Linked DNA regions of Homo sapiens: all the other regions are linked to region 2. Evidence: promoter capture Hi-C in 16 types of primary human blood cells and fetal thymus (Javierre and others, 2016). All regions are on one chromosome and are shown on one strand. The core of a region is centred on a gene start or on the middle of the fragment in contact, and the rest is flanking DNA. Distances in the headings are between cores, read along the strand shown.

What was found. The method cuts DNA at HindIII sites, captures the fragments that hold promoters and counts their contacts. A CHiCAGO score of 5 or more calls a contact.
Region 1: a fragment that was not itself captured here is called in contact with the fragment with the promoter of SLC47A1 in region 2 in 7 of 17 cell types (non-activated CD4 T cells, naive CD4 T cells, total CD4 T cells and 4 more); the score reaches 9.7 in non-activated CD4 T cells.
Region 3: a fragment that was not itself captured here is called in contact with the fragment with the promoter of SLC47A1 in region 2 in 1 of 17 cell types (naive CD4 T cells); the score reaches 6.1 in naive CD4 T cells.

What each region holds. Positions count from the first base shown.
Region 1 is chr17:19,804,578-19,808,780 of GRCh38, reverse strand. It overlaps ULK2 (unc-51 like autophagy activating kinase 2), which reads left to right. Exons shown (of 27, transcript NM_014683.4): 15 at 3,951-4,088. Among named protein-coding and RNA genes, the nearest start is that of TRG-CCC3-1, 54 kb to the left of the region's middle. The HindIII fragment of the contact is 3,832 bases long and covers 434-4,203 here.
Region 2 is chr17:19,532,523-19,536,717 of GRCh38, reverse strand. It overlaps SLC47A1 (solute carrier family 47 member 1), which reads right to left and starts at 2,864. Exons shown (of 17, transcript NM_018242.3): 1 at 2,644-2,864. The coding sequence starts at 2,778. The HindIII fragment of the contact is 8,699 bases long and covers 1,771-4,195 here.
Region 3 is chr17:19,823,284-19,827,770 of GRCh38, reverse strand. ULK2 (unc-51 like autophagy activating kinase 2) reads left to right here. Exons shown (of 27, transcript NM_014683.4): 11 at 1,585-1,632; 12 at 2,589-2,677. Among named protein-coding and RNA genes, the nearest start is that of TRG-CCC3-1, 35 kb to the left of the region's middle. The HindIII fragment of the contact is 2,561 bases long and covers 1,680-4,240 here.

The DNA of each region.
Region 1 (4,203 bases), core at 1,100-3,599, 270 kb before region 2:
CATTTGTTATTTTCTAAAATAACAGCCATCCTAATTAATGAGTGTGAGGTGATACCTCATTGTGATTTTGATTTGCACTTCTCTAATGATTAGTGATATTGAACATCTTTTCTTATACTTCTTAGCCATTTGTATATCATCTTTGGAGAAATGTCCAGTCAAGATCTTTGCCCATTTTTAAATTGAGTTATTTGGGTTTTTGTTGTTGGGTTGTAAGAGTTCTCTGTATATTTTGGATATTAGCCTCTTGTCAGGTATGATTTGCAAATATTTCTTCCCATTCTCTTGGTTGTCTTTTGACTCTTTGTGTCCTTTGATACATGAACATTTTTTAAGTTTGAGGAGGTCATATTTGTGTATTTTTTGTTTTGTTGCCTGTGCTTTTGGCATCATATTCAAGAAATCATTGCCTACTCTTATGTCATATTAAGCTTTCCCTCTATGTTTTTGTCTAGGAGTTTTATAGTTTTGGGTATAATGTTCAGGCCTTTAATCCCCTTTGAGTTAATTTTTGTGTATGGTGTATGATAAGATTCCAACTTTACTCTTTTGCATGTGGATATCCAATTTTCCCAGCACCATTTGCTGAAGAGACTGTCCCTGTCCCATTGTGTGGTCTTAGCATTCTTGTCTGAGATCATTTCACTGTATATGCAAGAGTATCTTTTATTTTTGAGATGGAGTTTCGCTCTTGTTGCCCAGGCTGGAGTGCAATGGTGCGATTTCGGCTTGCTGCAGCCTCCGCCTCCCAGGTTCAAGCAATTCTCCTGCCTCAGCCTCCAGGGTAGCTGGGATTACAGGTACCCGCCACCACGCCTGGCTAATTTTTTGTATTTTTAGTAGAGACGGGGTTTCGCCATGTTGGTCAGGCTGGTCTTGAACTCCTGACCTCGTGATCCACCTGCTTCAGCCTCCCAAACCTTAAACAATTTGATGTACTCTAAGGCGCCCCTTGAGTAGCACTGGTACCTTGGGGGCCCTCAGTGCACAGTTTGGGAACCACGGGGATAAGCAAATCTTGTACAATCTTGTTTCTTTCCTCTCTTTGAGGATATGGGAATTCAATTATGGGAATTGTATATTGCCAGATTTTCACTTCTTTTGATGTGCTGCCTTTTTTTCTTCTTGAGTCATCTTTGGCTCCTTTTTGGCTTCTCTTCCTATGGTCTAATTCTTGAACTTTCCTTTACCAGTGAATATGCATTTTTCTCTAAAGCAGCACTTCTTAGTAATAGTGCCTTCAATAGCTACATGGCAGTTTTCAGTACATGTAGGGAATATAATATCTATTCCTTGTGCATCCAGACAAAAAATAGGCATAGGCATGGGAGTTAGGATATCAGAATTCTAAGACTGGTTGTTGCCAGACATTGATGGAGGCCAGCTGCATACACAGCCCATGGTGCATTAGAGTGCACCATCTGAGTGGATTTCTACCCTTCTGATTGCTTCCCTTTACATGCAGTAACCCCTTTCTCACTAGAACCTTGCAAGCTGTGTGCCTGTGTGCCACACTAGGCCCTTTTCTGATGCTGCTTGGGTCTCTGGGTGATGAGCAGGTTATCTCCACTTGGCTCCCCATCACTTACACAGCCTCATGAGCATGAGCTCACAACTGTGGCTTAGCATTAGTCTGCTAGATTGAGTTTCACAGGAGCTCTTATGCATAGATCCTTCCTTCTTCTCTCCCTCTGTCCCTTGGCATTACTTCCAGCTGAACCCTTGCTTTCCTGATTACCTGTCACCCTTTCAGGATTTACTCATGGAGTCTTCTAAAACAAAGAGGCAACTGGGGATTTCCTGGTGTAAAGATTGTGTATTTGAAGAAGTTGTCATGCTATCACCTAGTCTTTATTTGTCCATTTGCATTTGTGCTTTCCTCTCAGCACAAGTAGATAGAATAACATGTGATTGTGCTTTTGTGTGGCCAGGCTGCCTTATCTTTCAAGTATTTCATATGGGTCCAAGATGACGGTCCACACAGAGAATGTTGTGAATTGTAGGCCCTAGTGGAGGTGAGGAAGATGTGCTGGAGACTCAGGACATACACAGACTTTCCCTCTCCTTAACTTGGACTCAGGGAGTTGAAGATGGTTAAATATTGGTGTTAATATTAAGTTGTACAGGAAAATGGCTGCAGTTGTCTTAGCTAGCTAGAGATCTGGAATTTGTCCAGGGAAGACTTTCTAGACCCTGAGCAAGTCTGCTTGCAGGTCCTGTCCAGAGACTATCTGAGATAACATTTGCAGAACACCATCCATGGCTGTTCATGTCCTCATGCTGGTAGGGGGAGGAACCAGAGGTGTTAGAGAAGCCAGCTGAGATTACCTGAGAGAGGTGCTTAGAATTATGAGGTTGCTAAGTTTACTTCTTTGGGTACCTTTATTTAGCTTCTTCCCTTTGGAGATTAACCAGTACAGGAAAAATTTTAGAGCTTGATAATGTGTATTTAAAAAAAATTCCCTGATGTACTTTAGCAGGGAATGAATGCTTCAAAAACTCTGTTTACTTACTAAATTGAAACAATAAAAAAATGGCATTTATTCTTTCACATTCTGATAATTGATGACTGTGTTGGTTATTCTGTTGTTAAGGAACTTGGGTTGTCAGACCTATGAGTGCACTGGCTTGCAGACACCAGAGCTGATTAGTGAAGTACTGTTAAGCTGTTTTAGTGGTAGTAGAGGGTTTGTGTTTTTGGGATTTTGTTTGTTTGTTTTTAGGATGTAGATAAACTGAAGAATCAGATGTGTAGATATTAAAAACATTATTGTATTTAAAGATACTAAATGGAAATACCTAAATAAAAATGTATAGAGAGAGCTCATAGAAGCACACTAAATGGCGTATCATTAGGAATTCCACTTGGCTGTAAACCACAGGGTCCTAACTATAGAGTGGTTGAACACTTAAAGGTTTTCTCTCATGCAGAAAAGTCACGATAAACAGTTGTTTCCTTAGTTTCTGTGGCTCAAGGAAGTTACGTGTCTTCAGGTCTTTTGGCCTTTTTTTTTGTGGTTCAAAGGTATCTGCTGAAGCTCCAGCAAGCATGCTCACATTTTGAACAGGAAGAATGAGTAGAAGACTTCTGCTTATATCTCACTGACCAAGAAAGACATATGGTTATGCTTGGCTGCAAGGGAGTCTGGGATATGCTGCAATTAATTGGGCATATTATTGCCACTAATAAAATTTAAGTTATTTTTTAGTAAGACATAAAGGCTGAATGGATATTGGGAAAGCAGCTAACATCTCCACTACAAAAGTGTTTTGTATTTCTTTTTACTTTGAAATAAGTCATCTCTCTTAGGGCCCAGTGTTATCTCTGATATGTTTTTAGGATATGTTGTAAAGTGAATTGAAAGTGGTATAAGGACATTCTATTTCTGAATTTATGAAAAGTGAGGAAAGAGGCTATTAAAGAAACCAAATACTGACACTACAAAATGTGGACGTCAGATGAGTTGCATGCTTTGAGAGTTTGTGCAAGATGTTCTCCTTCTTCATAAAGTCAGAGCTCTTTGAGAATGCTTACAGCATTCATGACTTTTGCAAACATTCCAGTCATCTTTGTTGTTGAACTTCCCGTTCTTTTACCCAGCATATTTTCCTGGATATTTTTTCTCTCACATAGTAATGAATAGCAGAATGTGAGTGGATGAAACAGTTTTGCTGACCTGTGGACTTTTCCTGTTGTTGTAAAGGAACTTTTTTCCAGGTTATTATAATTCTTAGTCCTCAATATGCATATGAATGCCAGGAGTTTTTTAGATAATAAATGTGATTTTTTTTGGCTTTATATATTTTTTAACAAGATCATTTCTTATTAAGGTAGTGGAGTGACCATTTGGCTCTTTCTGGAATTTTCTCTAAATATAACTAATGGGTCAAATGAAAGAAAAACAATCCTACCACTGTTTCTTTCCTTTTTCAATAAATTACGATTGCAGGCAGTGTCAGCCTACTGTGTCACCTCACAGCGAAACAGCACCAATTCCAGTTCCTACTCAAATAAGGAATTATCAGCGCATAGAGCAGAATCTTACATCTACTGCCAGCTCAGGCACAAATGTACATGGTTCTCCAAGGTAAGTTAGTAGCTTTTTTCTTGCTTAATTCTTTTTCATCTCCTTTAAAAAAAATTTATTGATATTGGAAGATATGTTACTTTCTGTGGCATAGTGTCTTACATGTGTGTATAAT
Region 2 (4,195 bases), core at 1,615-4,114:
GGTCTCTCCTTATCCCATGCCCTTTAGTAAACAGAAAACTTTATAGCAGATGGGATTAGAGATGGGAGACAGACCCAGGCCGGTCCACATACACTTCATGAGAGACTAAGCAGGTAGCAAAACTCTACAATCACATTTTCACAAAGCAGAGACACACACACACAAAGGACTAGAAGGAAAGCTCCCAAATTACCTCTCAGCGGTGAGATTTCAGAGGGTTTTTTCCTATTGTTGGTCTTGGTTTTCTATTTTTTTCTACAGTAAATATGCATGACATTTGTAATAAACACAATGGTATACATATATGTACATACAAAGAGAAAAGGTGAGGTCCCCAGCATGTCAGTCTAGTGCTCATCCCTGGAGACCTGGAGAGGTCCCCCACATCAAGGGGATCAGGCTACTGGGAGGGCTGGATTTCAGAAACCTGCCCTGTTATTATTATTATTATTATTATTATTATTGCTATACTATTAAAGCAATAACAGGCTGGGCAAGGTGGCTTATGCTTATAATCCCAGCTCTTGGGAGGCCGAGGCAGGAGGATTGCTTTAGCCCAGGAATTCAAGCAATGGGCAACACAGGGAGACCCTATCTCTAACCCAAAATACAAAAATTAGCCAGGCATGGTGGTGTGTGCCTGTAATCTCCGCTACTCCAGAAGTTGAGGCTGCAGTGAGCTGTGATCACACCACTGCACTCCAGCCTGGCCGACAGATCAAGACCCTGTCTCAAAAAATAATAATAATAATAAAACAATAATAGCCTTAGAAAGCCCCTTCTCACAGCAGCTCTGTGAGGGAGTGTTGAACCAAGACATGATTATTATCTCCATTTTACAAATGAATATGCAGAGACCAGAAGAGGTTAGGAGGCTGTTTCAATCTGCACAGCTGCTTCCTGACTTACTTTCGGAGGTCAAAGCAGGGCACGCAGCCCCAGGTCTTGAGATTCCAAATCATGAGGTGTTTTTTTGCCCAGGCTGGAGTGCAATGGCGCGATCTGGGCTCACTGCAACCTCCGCCTCCCGGGTTCAAGCGGTTCTCCTGCCTCAGCCTCCCAAGTAGCTGGAATTACAGGCGCCTGCCACCATGCCCAGCTAATTTTTATTTTTTATTTTTTGTATTTTTAGTATAGACGGGGTTTCACCAGGTTGGCCAGGATGGTCTCAATCTCTTGACCTCGTGATCCGCCTGCCTTGGCCTCCCAAAGTGCTGGGATTACAGACGTGAGCCACCACGCCCAGCCATGAGGTGTTTTTGTTTTGTTTTGTTTTGTTTTTTGAGACCAAGTCTTACTCTGTTGTTCAGGCTGGAGTGCAGTGGCACCATCCTGGCTCACTGTAACCTCCACTTCCCAGGTTCAAGCGATTCTCGTGCCTCAGCCTCTGGAGTAGCTGGCACTACAGGCGCCCGCCACCACGTCTGGCTAATTTTTGTATTTTTAGTAGAGACGGAGTTTCACCATATTGGCCAGGCTGGTCTCGAACTCCTGACCTCAAGTGATCCATCTGCCTCAGCCTCCCAAAGTGCTGGGATTACAGGCGTGAACCACCGCGCCCAGCCCCAAATCATGAGTTCTTTCTGGTCTGTGAGAAAGCATGGCTGATGGATCTTATTCCATGGCTTTGACCTCGGCATTACCCTTGCTGTCCTGCACACCACAGCGGGTGCCACAATATCCCACAAACTACCGAGCCCCCACTCCAGAGGCACAGCGGCCCCCCTCAGCCCGCGCAGGTGCAGAATGTGGGCCTCAAAGTCAAAAGCTTATTCACGCCTTAAGTGCATACCAGTTGCTTCTTGTGCCGCGTCCTACCCTCTCGGTTTGAAAACCACCCAAGCTGGCAGGAGAACGTGGATAGGATTGTGTTTTTGTGGTTTTTAAAACCACATTATTTTTAGGAGACAAGGCAGAAACAGCCCTAACCTAATGATTAAAAAGAAAAGAATCCCACAGATAAGAACACCTCGACCCCACAAAGAACCACATTAAAACCCCTTTTTTCTTTCACATACATAATTACTGGCGGGGAGGGGGTGGTACAGGATGCCTCTGGTTTCCTCGGTAGAGGTTGACTGAATTCTGAAGAAATCATTTCGCAGCTCTGAGTCCACGACAGACCACGCACCCCCTCCTCCGTGCCTCGGGATTATTTAGATCGCAGAGCTCCCGAACTTTTGACCGCTACTTTTCAAAGAAACAAGTTCCCTTGTGTTTTGAAGTTCAGGCAACTTGCGTTTTATTGGCCGGAATCAGCTCCCAGAGAAGGCACCCCCGGATGCAAATGCAGCCTGGACCTGGTAGAGCCCCGTTAGGGGCAAAGGTCCCAGCTCTCCGGTGTCTCCTGGCGCAGGAGGCTGGAGCCGCCGGCCTCTCCGAGCCAACATGCGCCCGGGCGCGTACCAGCCGTTCCCGCAGTGCCCCGCGGGGCCCCCAGTCGGGTGGTGCGGAGCGGAAAGCGGCCGGGACGCAGGCAGAGGAGCTGGGGTGCCCGCCCGGCTCCTGGCACGATGCTCCCCGGAGCCCGCCGGCGGACAGCTCGCTCGGTCCCCAAAGCCCGCCAAAGTCACCCGCGGAGGCAGAAATCACCAGGTCCCCAGCCCGCCGGTACCGGCCTGCCACTGAGGCCACCTTACTCACCGCGGGGCCAGCCAGGACCAAGAGCGCCCGCAGCTCTTCTCGGAAGGCGGACAGCCGCAAGCAGCGCGACCCACGGACCTCAAGGGTGGCCTCCGGGCCTCCGCGCACTGGCGCGGGCTCCTCAGGAGCTTCCATGTGACTCGCGCGCTGCGGCCGGGTAGCGCGGAGGCCGGCAGTGGGTACCGCGGAGGCCGGCAGTGAGTACCGCGCAGGCCGGCAGTGGGTACCGCGCAGTGCAGCCTGCTCTGCAGTCCCCGCCCCGGCCGCCCGCCCAGAGCCCGCCCCGCGCCTGGCGCCCGGGGGCCCGACTGAGCGCGCAGCCAGGCAGCCTGCGACCTTGGGCGCGCCCCTTGCACCTCTCTCTGCACCACTGCGGACGCCTGCGGGTCTTGCAAAGACCAAGGAACTCCTGCACTTGGAAGGCAAAGTTTGAAAAAGCTCTGTAAACTAACGGAACGCGCTCCGGGGGCTGGGTCCTCCACGTCTCGGACGCCAGGACTCACCCCGGCTCTCCACCTCCGCTGGGGGTTTCAGGTTCTGAATGACCTGGCGTGGAAGGACCCAGAGGCCTCGAGCCGTGACTCGGTTAGCACCCCGCGGGGTGTGTGGGGTTGGGCGCATTTGCTGTGCAGATTGAGTTGGGTACACCCTTTGATGCTGGTTAGGGTGTTGCATACTCCTCTCCTCTCATCAGTTGTTCCATTAGAGAACTTAGAATCTACCAGGATAGAGCAACATGCTCCCATTTGCCAAGTAGCACAGTTTGTGCCAGCTGGTCGTGTTGGAAGTTTATCCATCAAGCCTGCTGTGGGAGTACGAGAGGCTGCGGCCCAGAAGGGCAGGAGCAGCGCGCTTTCCTCCCAGAGCCTCAGCTTCCTCATCTGCAAACGTGAAAGAACACTCGTCGCCAGCTGTGAAGACTGGGGTTGCCTGGGCGGAGGACCGGAGTCAGTGCCACCTGCCCTCAGCCTGGCACCAGCCGTTACCTAATAAGTGTCAGTTACCAGGACAAGATTGATTTCTCTAATAGTCAAAATTCCTTCCGTTGTAATGATCCAATGTAAGTAGAGAAAATGGAAAACAAATTTTTTGGCTCACATAATCAGGAAGTTTGGATTCAGGGATTTGAAAACAAGGTCATTAGGCCAGGCGCGGTGGCTCACGCCTGTAATCCCAGCACTTTGGGAGGCCTAGGCGGGCGGATCACAAGGTCAAGAGATCGAGACCATCCTGGCCAACATGGTGAAACACCGTCTGTACCGAAAATTAGCTGTGCATGGTGGCGCGCGCCATAATCCCAGCTACTAGGGAGGCTGAGGCAGGAGAATTGCTTGAACCCGGGAGGCAGAGGTTGCAGTGAGCCGAGATCTCGCCACTGCACTCCAGCCTGGTGGCAGAGGGAGACTCCACTCAAAAAAAAAAAAAAAACAAAACCAGATCATTCTTGTTGTCCCTCTTCCCATCTCTGTCCCTCTCCTCCCTTCTCCTCGCCCCTTGGGATTCTTTCCGTAGTTTCTCTTCCTCCTCTGCCGGCAGCCTTTCTCTTCCTGTG
Region 3 (4,487 bases), core at 1,711-4,210, 290 kb before region 2:
GCCTGTTAATTTTGTATTTTTAGTAGAGACGGGGTTTCTCCATGTTGGTCAGGCTGGTCTCAAACTCCTGACCTCAGGTGATCTACCTACCTCTGCCTCCCAAAGTGCTGGGATTATAGGCGTGAGCCACCACGCCCGGTCCAACCTAATTCTTATCTTAGGTAAAAACAGCTACTTGAAAATGTCAGACCAGAGAAATCATTAAGACATGTTTAATGAAAATACTTAGCAAATTAACCCTGATCTTGTAGTTTTTAGGGAAAAAAGTGTTTGACTTTTCCTGTAGTAATAGTTGTAATACTAACAGAGATTTGTGGAAATATACTCCAGGATTTTGGTTTGCTAATGTATAGTATAATAGGGAAACCCACATTGGTATTTAAATAAGTTGGACTAGAATTTGAATTCTAGTCCCTCACCTTACTAACTCTTTGACATTGGACAAGAAACATGGCCTTTGTGTGCTTTTAATTTTATTACCCATCATAGGAGGACATACTTCCTCAGATAAGGTTTGTGAAGCACCCAGTTCATTGTCTTAGTGAATGTTGAATACTCAGTAGAGGATAGCTGTAATTGTTTCCATGTCGGGGAAAAGATGAAATGGTCTGAATACCTATTTTCTTAATGTTTTGTAAAGTTGGACTAAAATTAAGTTCATGTAGTTGGAAATATTTATACCTATTAGGGAGAAGTTAAGCTGAGAGTTGCTCTGAACCATGAGAATTATGGTCAATAGTGAAACAACTATTATGGAGAATGGTTTTAAAATTATTGAATGTATTGTTTTTGTAGTTTCTTTTTTTTTTTTTTTGAGACGGAGTCTCGCTCTGTCACCCAGGCTGGAGTGCAGTGGCGCGATCTCGGCTCACTGCAAGCTCCGCCTCCCGGGTTCACGCCATTCTCCTGCCTCAGCCTCCCGAGTAGCTGGGACTACAGGCGCCGGCCGCCATGCCCAGCTAATTTTTTGTATCTTTAGTAGAGACAGGGTTTCACCGTGTTAGCCAGGATGGTCTCAATCTCCTGACCTTAGGTGATCTGCCTGCCTCGGCCTCCCAAAGTGCTGGGCTTACGGGCGTGAGCCACCACACCCGGCCAGTTTTTTCTCTTTTTAATGTGAAACCAGCATCAGGAATACTTGTAGGGGCGAAGGATAGTTTGTTGTATAAATCAGCTGTATCAATTTCCTCTTAGGACAATTAACAGCTGTAGTTCACATGGGTGCTTAACAAGGGCCTGGTGATCACAGTTCTCCTGTGGGGCTGTCCACTGGAGGGTGGCATACGTTAGAGAACATGTCTGTGTAAGTAGCATCAGAGTATGTTGTGCTGGTGATAGATGTTTTGAGAATTCGTAATTATTTAAAATTTGTTATTGATTCATTATTTTATATGATTATAAAAATAATTATTTTATAGAGGATTTATAAAAAATACGCTTTTACATTTAAAGGAAATGGAGCCTATATAAAGAAGTTAAATTCTGATCTCAAAGACATTATATTGAATACGTTGAGAAAAAATAACCTGGTTGATAGTTTAGTCAATGTCTCTTTAAAGGTTGCATTCTCATTTCTTGTTACAGAAGCATTTTTTAGCCATCCTTTTCTTGAGCAAGGTCCAGTAAAAAAATGTGAGTATCCATTTTTTGTATTTTCACTTAAAGAATGAATGCAAGCTTTAGGAAAAATTAATGATTTTTACTACAAAATTCATCTTTTATTGTGACTCCTAAAATTTCATTGAATTTATTTATTTATTTATTTATTTTTTTTTTTTTTTTTTGAGATGGAGTTTCGCTCTTGTTGCCCAGGCTGGAGTGCAGTGGCGTGATCTCGGCTCACAGCAACCTCCACCTCCCGGGTTCAAGCCATTCTCCTGCCTCAGCCTCTGGAGTAGCTGGGATTACAGGCATGCGCCACCATGCCCGGCTAATTTTGTATTTTTAGTAGAGATGGGGTTTCTCCATGTTGGTCAGGCTGGTCTCGAACTCCGGACCTCAGGTGATCCACCCGCCTCAGCCCCACAAAGTGCTGGAATTACAGGTGTGAGCCACCACACCCAGCTACTTTTTTTTTTAAACGGAGTCTTGCTCTGTCACTCAGGCTGGAGTGCAGTGGTACAACCTCTGCTTCCTGGTTTCAAGTGATTCTCCTGCCTCAGCCTCTGGAGTAGCTGGGATTACAGGCGGGCACTACCACACCTGGCTAATTTTTGTATTTTTAGTAGAGACGAGGTTTCACCATGTTGGTCAGGCTGGTCTCAAACTCCTGACCTCAAGTGATCCTCCTGCCTCAGCCTCCCAAAGTGTTGGGATTATAGGAGTGAGCCTCTGCTCCCAGCCTGATTTTCTTAGATACCTACGGTTGTGTTTATTTAATAACTGTTCTATTTTTCCTTCTGAAACGAAGTTGAAATAGTTTTAGTAATTGCTGCATTTTTAGTTTCATCAGCAGATGTGGTAATAAATAGGTAAATGCAGATTTTGGGGGAACACAAAGGTGTAGTAGTTTTGGCAAGTGTTTCTGTTATACAGGTCATGTGACTGCACTACAAAATGATGTAGTTCATTTGTGTTTCTTCCCCTAGCTTGCCCAGTTCCAGTGCCCATGTATTCTGGTTCTGTCTCTGGAAGCTCCTGTGGCAGCTCTCCATCTTGTCGTTTTGCTTCTCCACCAGTAAGTTACAGTTTATTAAAAATAATTTCAGAGTTAGTGCTATTACATCTTTTCTCAAATGGAGCATGCACATACACTGTGGATATTCTTTTTATGTGTAATGTTTACTAATGTAGCTGAGATTTGGGGGAAAGAACATGATAGTTGGGTCAAATGGACCTGCATTCGGGCCTCTGTCCATATGTTACTGTGTAAGCTCCAGAAAGAAATGTCACCTCTCTGGGCCATTTTCCTCTGAACAGTGAGTATAGCACTATCACCTTCTTATACCCTATGGTGTTTTGGTGATGATACTTGCAAACAGAGTACCCATTACAGGTGGATAGGCAATAAATATTTATTTGATCTGAATGCCGTAGACATGAGCTTGGATTTTTTTTGTATGTGGAATTTCTACTGAGGGAGGAGTCACCTCTGAGCCAGATTTCACTGACTTAGATTCTCTTAATCATGATTTCTGGCGCTTTAAGGTGGCTTCTACTCAAACCTCTTCCTTTCCCTGAAGCTCCCAAGGCATTTTCTTCATGGCTGTGTTCCCTCCCATCTCAGTACTTCTTCCTAATCCTGAGGCCTTCTGGTCACTCTAGTCACTTCTTCCTACTCCACTCTTCTCTTAGGCTTTTTTTTTTTTTTTTTTTTTTTTTTTTGAGATGGAGTTTCGCTCTGTCGCCCAGGCTGGAGTTTAGTGGCTCCATCTTGGCTCACTGCAACCTCCGCCTCCTGGGTTTAAGCGATTCTCCCAGCCTCAGCCTCCCAAGTAGCTGGGACTGTAGGCGCACACCACCACACCCAGCTAATTTTTTGTATCTTTTGTAGAGACGGGGTTTCACTATGTTGGCCAGGCTGGTCTGAAACTCCTGAACTCAAGTGATCTGCCCGCCTTGGCCTCCCAAAGTGTGAGCCACGGCACCCTGCCCCAGACATCAATTTCTTGAATGCCGCTGGCAGAAAGATAGGGGAGCCATAAAAGTGAGACAACTCAGAGGTTTAAGTGGATGGGGCTTGCAGCCTCCATGTACCTTACCTGTCATATAGGACACCTTTTTTTTGTATGTCAAGTAAGTGTAATTTACCTACCTCGTAGGGTTCTTCAGGGATAAGTGAGTGTAAGCACTTATTGCATGCAGGGTCTGACACATAGTATATAACGCAAGGGGTGGCAACTGTTAGGTAAAGCAGATGCAGATGTAGCCTGTTGCAAACAGACAAGTCTCAAAACTGGCAGCAAACCTTTCTTACACAGCCCCGCAAATTCATACCAAATAGATAAAGCAGATTATGTTAATAAGACTTATGTTATGTTCTGGTGAACTAAAAAAATTAAGAGCCAGACACGCTGGCACCAATCCTAGCCCTGCTGCTTGCCCACTCAGTGACTTTGGGCCGGTCAGTTAGAGAGGTGGGCCATGGTGTCCTCATCTGGACCATAGGCTTGTTTAACCTTTGCTTGCAGGGTCCTGGTAGTAAGATGTGGGAAGTGCCTAGCCATGGCAAAGTCTCAATAAATTGTGGCTATTATTATGAACCATATATTTGACACAATGTAATATGAAAAGCAAAGCTTGTGCTAGAGGAAAGAACAACAGGGAAGAATCTAATTTTGGGAGAGCAAACATAAAGGAGCCTGTGGGGTGATAGTGTGACTGAGGGATGAGAGAGGCCAGTAGGGAGGACGTTGAACTGGAAATTTTCTTTGACTGGAGAGAGCATTTTGGGGTTTTTGTTGGTTGAAAGAGGAGGACAAAATAGGAGCCAGGCTAGGGCTGCCAAGGAGTAGCTGAATGTAGAACTAACTGGAGGAGTGAAGAGA